Linked DNA regions of Homo sapiens: region 1 is linked to region 2. The links are contacts of gene promoters, found by promoter capture Hi-C in human tissues and cell types (Jung and others, 2019). All regions are on one chromosome and are shown on one strand. The core of a region is centred on a gene start or on the middle of the fragment in contact, and the rest is flanking DNA. Distances in the headings are between cores, read along the strand shown. Region 1 holds the start of DNAH17-AS1 (DNAH17 antisense RNA 1). Region 2 holds the start of SYNGR2 (synaptogyrin 2).

The links. The method cuts DNA at HindIII sites, captures the fragments that hold promoters and counts their contacts. A contact is called where the count stands out against the background at its distance.
Region 1: a contact is called between a fragment that was not itself captured here and the fragment with the promoter of SYNGR2 in region 2, in 1 of the 25 tissues and cell types used here (pancreas).

The regions. Positions count from the first base shown.
Region 1 is chr17:78,484,542-78,489,186 of GRCh38, forward strand. DNAH17 (dynein axonemal heavy chain 17) reads right to left here. Exons shown (of 81, transcript NM_173628.4): 45 at 1,683-1,965; 46 at 1,419-1,592; 47 at 1,009-1,216; 48 at 327-492. DNAH17-AS1 (DNAH17 antisense RNA 1) reads left to right here and starts at 369. Exons shown (of 6, transcript NR_102401.1): 1 at 369-621. RefSeq lists enhancers at 1-21, 52-101 and a silencer at 172-401. The HindIII fragment of the contact is 5,977 bases long and covers 408-4,645 here.
Region 2 is chr17:78,166,063-78,170,468 of GRCh38, forward strand. SYNGR2 (synaptogyrin 2) reads left to right here and starts at 2,519. Exons shown (of 4, transcript NM_004710.7): 1 at 2,519-2,653. The coding sequence starts at 2,555. C17orf99 (chromosome 17 open reading frame 99) reads left to right here. Exons shown (of 5, transcript NM_001163075.2): 5 at 1-235. RefSeq lists silencers at 2,182-2,791, 2,822-2,981. The HindIII fragment of the contact is 23,749 bases long and covers 1-4,406 here.

The sequences.
Region 1 (4,645 bases), core at 2,146-4,645, 320 kb after region 2:
ACAGACACCTCGGTGGAAGGGGGGAAGGAGGATCCCCCCCTCCGCGGGGGCTCTAGGCCACTGCTGCATGTTTGTGAAATGGGTGATGGACGAAACTGATAGAACCTCTCCCCTACCCTGGCCCTACCTCAATGCCTTGTGGCCCCACAAACTTGGGGGCCCAGCTACGACCCGTGTCTCCCTACCCACGTTGCAGCACCCCCCCCACCGCCCCACACCAGTCCTGCCCTACTGCCCTGGGGCTCCGCCTCTTCCTGCGCCCCGCCCTGGCCCCGCCCTCACCGCCCCGGGGCCACGCCTTCCCCTCCGGCCCCGCCCCGTCTAACCAGTGCCGGTGGTCCATGTGCTGCCGGATGAGGGTGTGCGGGGCCACCGTCCCATACTTGTCCACCTCGGGCATGTTCATGTCGTCGATGAAGTAGACGAGCTTCTTAGTGCCTGGCGGCCCGTAGTTCCTCCCCGATTTCTTCTCCAGCGGCTTCTCCAGCACCCCTAGAGAGGGCAGAGGGTCAGCTGCCCGCCTGCGCCTCCTGAGCCAGAGCCTGTTAGGTAGGGAGGGGCGCTACCTGCTTCCCCGGAGGACAGAAGGTGGGACCTGGCTGGGATCCAAGTTTACCAAAGGTACCTGCCCTGGGAGTGGCCCTTGAGGGGGCACCGGGTACAGCCCCAGGAATAAACAGAGCGATCAGAGGCGAGGGTGGCAGGAACCTTGCTCTCCGTCACCTTTGGGTCGCCTTAGATTGGCTGAGACACTCCCGGGGGACCTGCTGCCTCGACTGGCCATCAAAACCCCATCACCATGCCCACAAGGGAGCACCAGAAAGAGGGGTCCCGGCTGCTCCTCCTCTGTCTCCGACTCAGGAAGGAAAGGCCAGCGGGTGGGGCATGGGAAGTGAGGAGGTGCAAAGTGGCTAGTGAGTGCCTGGGCCTGCAGTGAGAGGGGACAGGAGGGAACGGGGACTGGCGGGGGGCAGCCGGGTAGGCAGGGCGTGGCCGGACCAGCCTCACCCTGCAGCATGGCTGAGGTCGTGTAGAAGTTGAAGGGCACAGCCTGCACCAGGTAGTTGTCCGTGTTCAGGCTTTCCAGCTTGTCCCCCATCAGCACCGACTTGCCCGTCCCCGCGTTCCCCACCAGCATCACCGGCCAGGACTTCTCCATGAGCAGGTCCATGAAGTAGCGGATGCGGATGGTTTCCGTGGTGTGGACCAAAGAGGCCTGGGGCAGGGGAGGGAAGGGGAGGGAGCTGTGATTCTCAGACACTTCTGCCTCTCGTGGGTGTGCAGGCCATGTTCTACCGAACAGGTCCTAATGTTGAAAATCGGTTGTGTTTGGACATTCCGTGCAGGCGTGTGGAGGGTACTGCACCGATTCCTGCCTCTAAATCACCAGTCGGTGGCCCTGCTTTGGGGACAGTTACCTGCAGTGGGACATCGGGATCCAGCTCAAAGGAGGGCACTTTATCTGTCCAGGGCAGGAACTTTTTTGTGTCAGGATCAATGTAGTAGTCAAAAATCGTTCCCTGCGAGGGGAACTTGATAGTCTTGAATTCGTTGATCCACCATTTACTGAACTCCACTCGATAATCCACAAGCTGTTGAGACACAGAAGTAAAAATCAGGGCCCAGCTAAGCAGGATGCTGAGAGACCCTGTGTGGGTGGCCGGGCCCCCCAGGTGCATCACCTGGTCCTGGAACATGGCGCCACCGAAGGCCCAGAAGCAGGTGAACACGAAGTACAGCTCGTACAGCTCCCTGGGGGAGTCGGGGGGCACGGTCTTCTCCGTGAGCAGGCACTCCAGCAGGTACAGAATCGTTTGGATCACCGTGATCTCCGGCACTGGCGTGATCTTCTTGAACCCAAAGCGCAACTTGTCCAGGCACGTGGGCAGGTACTTGTCAAAGAGGATCATCAGGTTGGCCTTCTCCGACTGCACCTTGCGCCTCTCGATCCAGCTGCTCACCACCCTGGGGGTGACAGGAGGCGCCGATGACACAGCCGCTGCTCTGGGTCTGCCAGTGTCCCTGCCTTGGTAAACGCCCCTCCCTACCTCCACCCAATTCTGCTGGGGCTGCCCTCAGGGTCACCATGCCTGCATGGCAATGGGTCCAAACGAGGGTGCCAGAGGGGCCAGTTGCAGGCCCTGAAAGGGTCGGAGGAGGATGCCAGGGTCGTGGGGGCTGTGCCCTCTCTGGGGTTGCTAGCTATGGGGGTGCTGTAGGTCTAGAACAGTTGGAAGCCATTCTTGCTACCACACGGGAAGCACATACCAAGGGCTGGTGGATGGGGCAGAACAGAAAAGGAGAAAGATCTCATGATGTCATGTGGGGGGCACGAAGGTGGGGACAGTAAGGGAGCAGAAAGGAGAGACAAGGATAGGAGCAGGGACATTTCATTACATCATCTGGACTCCTGAATCCAGCCATGCCTGAAGCACCCCTTGGTGCTTTTTTTTTTTTTTTTTTTTTAAGCTTCAGTTAGTTTGAGTTGAATTTGCCATGTTCAGTGTAAGAGTACAAATCAATACAACCAGCAATCCTTGAAGAGCCGTGCCAGACTGTTGGCCACAGACATCTCTGGGTGGCTCGTGTGGAGGTGGCCCACCACGGCGGTGAGGGGTGTGGACTCTGGGGCCTGACTGCCCAGGCTTGAGTCAGCTCTACCATGGCCAGCTGCTGCTTTAGGCAGGTTACTGCACATGCCTGAGTCCCTGGTTTCTCATCTGTAAACAGGGGTGATGTTTCCATGACCCTCATTTCCAAGGACTACATGGGCTGATATTTTTAAAGCTCAGAGAAGGGGGCCTGGTCCAGGGTAAGTGTTGCCAAATCAGCATCTGCTGAAAGCATCACTAGTGCCTGGCCCCCTCGAGTGCCAGTGAGCTCAGCACGTGCATCATTTCCAGGATGCCCAGGGCCTAAGCAGGAAGCTCCTGTTAACACACACAGCCAGCCTGCCCTGCGCTGACCGGCAGACGTGCCTCTTTAGACAGAGACTCATTTTTTTTCTTCTTCTGAGATGGAGTCTTGCTCTGTAGTGCAGGGGTGCGATCTCGGCTCACTGCAACTTCTGCCTCCTGGGTTCAAGCAATTCTCCTGTTTCGGCCTTCCAAGTAGCTGGGATCACAGGCGTGCACCATCACACCTGGCTAATTTTCATATTTTTAGTAGAGACAGGGTTTCGCCACGTTGGCCAGGCTGGTCTTGAACTCCTGACCTTAGATGATCTGCCCGCCTCAGCTTCCCAAAGTGCTGCGATTACAGACATGAGGCACTGTGCTTGGCCAGACACACACTCTTCTGTGAGTGTGCTCTGGGGGAGCTCCGCTTCTTCCTGAACCTCTATCACAAGAGAGAATTAAGAGCTGAACGTCTTTGCCGCATAGCACCCTGTATTATCCAGCGTAATAGAGTAAACCTTTCTATGTCCCTAAGCGAATCAGGGTGTCTCCATGCCTGTCGCAACTAAGAACTGAATTCCAAGTCCAGTTGGTCTTCAGTAGGGGAGATTGATTTGCAAATCTACGCAGAGGCTGCTGCTTTCTGCCTTCTACTTTGAAGATGTTTGTGTCAAAAATTTGTGATGCTGCCTTGGTAGGAGTCACTGAGTGCGGGTCGGTGTGTGTGCTGTCTCTGATATGCGTAGCACAGGCCCCAGGAGAGACACATGCTTGCGAGACAGGCCGACTTTCTCACCTCTGGTCCATACGGCTTCTTGCCCTGTCCCCAAGGCCATCCTGGGTGCATCCGGCATCCCTGCCCCTGGCAGTTGCCTATAGGAGGGCTGCTCCTGCTGTCTGGGGACCCTGTGTCTGCTTCTCGCCCATTTCCATTCTCTCCTCTGCCAATACTCAGGTCTCCTCCTCCTGCTTCCTCCAGGTCACTCCTTGGAGGTGTCCAGTTCCTGCCTTGGCCCACGCTGCCTTCGTTTCTGGCTCCCTCTTCTCTGCTCCCATAGGGTGTCCCCCTGAGGACTCCACGATCCTGTCTTTTTCCTGTCCCCGTGTCTCAGCAGCTCCTACCCAGGCTTCATTTCAGTTCCCCGGACATTGTCTTTGCCTACCCTGAAAACTCCCACACATGGTACAGTGGGTAGGATGGTGGTGCTACAAAAGAATGTCCACCCAGAACCCAGAATGTGCCCTGATTTGGAGAAAGGGCATTAGCAGATGTCATCAAGGATCTTGAGACAAGATCATCCTGGATTTAGGGTGGACCCTGAATCCAATGACTGTGTCCTTATAAGCAAATGGGAAATTTGGACACAGACATACAGAGAAGGCCACGTGGAGACAGAGGCGGAGATGGGAGGGGTGTGTCCATAAGCCAAGGGATGCCAAGGACCGCCGAGAGCCCCCAGGAGCTGGGAGAGAGGCCTGGGACAGGTTCTCCCGCAGAGCCTCAGAGGGAACCAGCACTGCCTACTCCTTGACTTCTGGCCTCCAGCACTGGGAGAGGATAAATGTCTGTTGTTTGAAGCTGCCCCATTAGTGGTCATTGTTTCAGCAGCTGGAGAATGCTGTATAAGCAGGCAAGTGTTGCTGGAGAAGCCGGCACAGAGGCACCCAGGCTCAGCAGCTCCTGGCCCTGTCCCCATAGGGAACATTCCACTTGGTATCCCTCTCAAACCCTGGCCACACTGTGCTGC
Region 2 (4,406 bases), core at 1,269-3,768:
AGCCAAGCACGGCAGAGGACTGCAGGCCATCAGCGTGCACTGTTCGTATTTGGAGTTCATGCAAAATGAGTGTGTTTTAGCTGCTCTTGCCACAAAAAAAAAAAAAAAAAAAAAAGGGTAACTATGAGAGATGGTGGATATGTTAACTTGCTTCGCTATAGGAACCTTTGTGCTATCTATATTATCTATATGAATCCCATCATATCAGGTTGTCTACCTTAAATATACACAAAAACATTTATTTAAAAAAAAGAAAAAAGCCTGCCAGCTGGGATTCTTGGAGTGCTGGTGGCCTTCAGCAAACACAGACACTGTTGGTGTGAGGGCTTCAGGAGGGTCACAGAAATAAGGGGGTCTGTGTGGCCCTGTCCTCGCCTCTCAGGTGCTGTCACATCTCTCTGGGTGTAGGGAGAGGGAGGGGGGCACACTGCGAAAAGGCCCAGCCCCTCCCCCCCACCTGCTCCCCTCTTCCCTGGAGAGGCACCCCACCTCCTGGTGGCCCAGTCCTATGGTTCAACTCTCACGTGGTCCAGCTCACCTGGGTTGACTGTGAGCCCCACCTGGCACACCTGCTGTTGTTAATCTGCACCTGCAACTAGCAAAGGGGGGTCTGGAATTCTTCCGGGTTCAGTCAGCCTGTGATCCCACACCTCTGTCTGTACAACCTCCGCTCCCCACTCCAACACACACAGAGCCTGCCCCAGCCTACCCTGCACCAGACCCTCTGTACCGGTTTTTCTTGGGATGGAGGTAGAGAGGGACGGAGGCGAGAGGGGGCTGAACTGGAACTGGATTAAACTTTGCCATCTGCCTGTCGCCCTGAAAACTTCATTTCTGTTTGCATGCCATATATATATTTTTTTATATGTGGTCTTTTCTTTTTTTTTTTTTTTGAGATGGAGTCTCGCTCTGTCGCAATGGTGCAATCTCGGCTCACTGCAACCTCCGCCTCCCGGGTTCAAGCGATTCTCCTGCCTCAGCCTGCCAAGTAGCTGGGACTACAGGCACGCGCCACCATGCCCAGCTAATTTTTGTATTTTTAGTGGAGACGGGGTTTCACCATGTTGGCCAGGGTGTTCTCGATCTCCTGACCTCGTGATCCGCCTGCTTCAGCCTCCCAAAGTGCTGGAATTACAGGCGTGAGCCACCACGCCCGGCCGATATGTGGTCTTACTCTGTCACCCAGGCTGGGGTGCAAAGGCGTGATCTTGGTTCACTGCAAACTCCGCCTCCTGGGCTCAGACAATTCTCCCACCTCAGCCTCTGGAATAGCTGGGACTGCTAGTAGCTGCCACCACGCCTCGCTAACTTTCGTTTTTGGTTTTGTTTGTTTGTTTGTTTGTTTGTTTGTTTTGTTTGTTTTGAGATGGACTCTTGCTCTGTTGCCCAGGCTGGGGTGTAGTGGCTCGATCTCAGCACACGGCCACCTCTGCCTACCGGTTTCAAGCAATTATCCTGCCTCAGCCTCCCAAGTAGCTGGGATTACAGGCGCTTACCACAACGCCCAGCTAATTTTTTTGTTGTTGTTGTATTTTTAGTAGAGACGGGGTTTCACCATGTTGGCCAGGCTGGTCTCAAACTCCTGACCTCAGGTGATCCAACCGCCTCGGCCTCCCAAAGTGCTGGGATTACAGGTGTGAGCCACTGCGCCCGGCCTTGCACACCATCTTTTTTTTTTTTTTTTTTTTTTTTTTTGACACAGAGTTTTGCTCTTGTTGCCCAGGCTGGAGTGCAATGGCACAATCTCGGCTCACCGCAACCTCCACCTCCCAGGTTCAAGCGATTCTCCTGCCTCAGCCTCCCGAGTAGCTGGGATTACAGGCATGCACCACCACACCAGGCTAATTTTTGTATTTTTAGTAGAGACGGGGTTTCTCCATGTTGGTCAGGCTGGTCTCGAACTCCTGACCTCAGGTGATCCAACCGCCTCGGCCTCCCAAAGTGCTGGGATTACAGGTGTGAGCCACCGCTCCCGGCCTTGCACACCATCTTAAGTGTGACGCCACACTGCCCTTCACAGCCTTGGGGCTCTGCCCAGACCAGGAGGAATGGGGAGGGGGTCTTTGACCCTACCCCAGGCTTAGCCCCAGAGAGGAGGAAAGAGTGGCAGGCCAGGCAGGGAGGGGCTCCAGGGTGTGGCCTGGGTTTTTCAGTGGGATGGGGGAGGGGTTGCTTATGAGCCTGGGTGGGTTCTTGGTAGGTGGTGGGCTTCCTAGAGGAGGCGGTGGGAGGGCAGGGGCAAAGAGGGTGAGCGGTCCTCAGTTCGTCCGTCTTCCCGGGGGACTCTCTGACCCTTTCTGGTCCGTGCTGCGGCCGGCGTGGCCCGGAGACTAGCCCCTCAACCCCGAGGTGGGGTGGACCCGGGTGCTCCGCGGCCACAGCCCCTCCCCGCCTCTAGAAGCGCAGTCCCGCGGCTCGCCCGCCGCTCGCGAGGGCCGCACTTTGCCCTCGGTCCCTAGCGGCGCCTGGCCACGCCCCCGGCGGGTGGAGTCGGGCGGGGCGCCGGGCAGGTTCCTCTGCGTTCCGCGGCGGCGGCAGCGGCGGCGACGGCGACATGGAGAGCGGGGCCTACGGCGCGGCCAAGGCGGGCGGCTCCTTCGACCTGCGGCGCTTCCTGACGCAGCCGCAGGTGGTGGCGCGCGCCGTGTGCTTGGTGAGCCCGGGGAGGGCGGGCCGAGGGCACCCTGGGGACCCCCTCTCCGTCGCCAGGCCCGGCGGGGCCCCTAGCCCACGAGCGCGACAGGTGGCGGCGGCCGCGTCCGGGGCCTGGCGGCGAGCGGGGCCGGCGTCCAGCGTCCCGGGCCCCGCCTTCCCGCCCTCCACAGTCTGTCCCGCTGTCCCCTCCCGGTCCCGGGTCCCGCCACCCACCCCACCCCCAGCCTCGCGCCCCGACGCGGGGTGTCCGGATCTCCGCAGGGAGCGGGCCCCTGCCTCGCTGGCAGTGGGAGGAGTTTGGGGGCGGCTCCCGGACAGGTGGCCCGCACGCCGCGACTCCCAGATTGGGGAGTTCACCGGGACGGGGTTTTCCGAAGCCACGTGGGGTAAGGGAGGGGGCGGGGGGCGACCCAACGCCCGGAAACAGGGTGTCCTTCCCACTCGGGGCAGGCCACGGGTCCGCCTTCCCACCCGAAGTTGAGGGACCCCAAGATGTACCCCCTCCCTGTAAGGTGGGCAATACCTCCAAAACCAGGTTTTGTGTGTGTGTGTGTGTGGCGGGGAGGGGGCCTGTTCTTGGACAGCCAGCCCTGAAAGCTGGAGGGGGTGGCATGAGGGGGCAGGCAGAGGTGGGCCTGCTGTGCCCAGACCATGCCTGGGCCTGGAGCTTCTGAGGTCCTCCAGGGCGCCCACACCAGCTCCCAGCCAGGCTGTGGGATCTGATCGCCTCTGTCCTGGGCTGTGTCCAAGAATCAGGTGCCCAGTGGGTCGGGATGGCAGTGCCAGGAGTCCTGGATGGGCACCCTGCTCCCATCATCCCGGAGATCCGGCTTCATCTCCATCTGGGGGCGGGGCCTGTGACTGCCAGCTCCAGAGCCCTATGGAGAGCTCCCTGGGACAACAGGGCAGGACTGGCAGGGGAGAGTCCTGGGGCCATCCCAGAGGGATCCTGATGCTCACAGACCTGTCCCACACCTGCTGAGGTGGAGCAGGCGTGGGTGGTGGCCTTCAAGTTTAGGGAGGTGGTATGGGGCTCTTCCCAAGGGGCTGGAGCTCCCCTACATCCACCCTGGGTCCTCCAGGTGTCTGAGTTCAGAGCTGTATCCACAGGCCTGAGTTAGTCCCCTTGTAGTGCCCTGTGCATGCAGGGCCCTCTGTGGGGTGGGAGACAGACTGGGAGGGACCAGGATGCCACAGAGGCTGCAAGTCCTTGTGTGGAGACAGCTGGCCAGGCTGAACCAGGGAGGGTTCCAGGGGTTCCAGGAGGTGAAGACACAGGGGCGCCAGCATGGCCTTCCCAAGAGGGCCTGTCCACCTTCACCAAGGTGTTCAGGCAGAGGCTGGGTGCTGTAGAAGTGACTTGGGCTGAAGGTGACGGGGGATGGGTAGTCTTTGTGACTTGGCCTGTCTTGGTTAAACCTCTTTCAAGGTGAGGTTGGGCTGGGGATGGAAGGACTGCCCTTCATCCATCAGGTACCTAAGCAGAATGATTCCTGCAGCAGGCCGATGGGGCAGGAGCAGCCCCTGCCTAGGAGGTCCCTGCCCATTCCCCACCCCTCCCCGGTCCAGGATTCCCAGGGGCAGGCCCCCTGGTGCCTGCAGATTCTCATCCTGGGGTGCATCAGGAAGCACTTTGCTCATCAGCTCACCTCCACAAGTTTGGAGGGGCTAAGATGTCAGCCTCCAAAAGGGGACAGCAGGCTGGGCGAGGTGGCTCATGCCTGTAATCCCAGCACTTTGGGAGGCCGAGG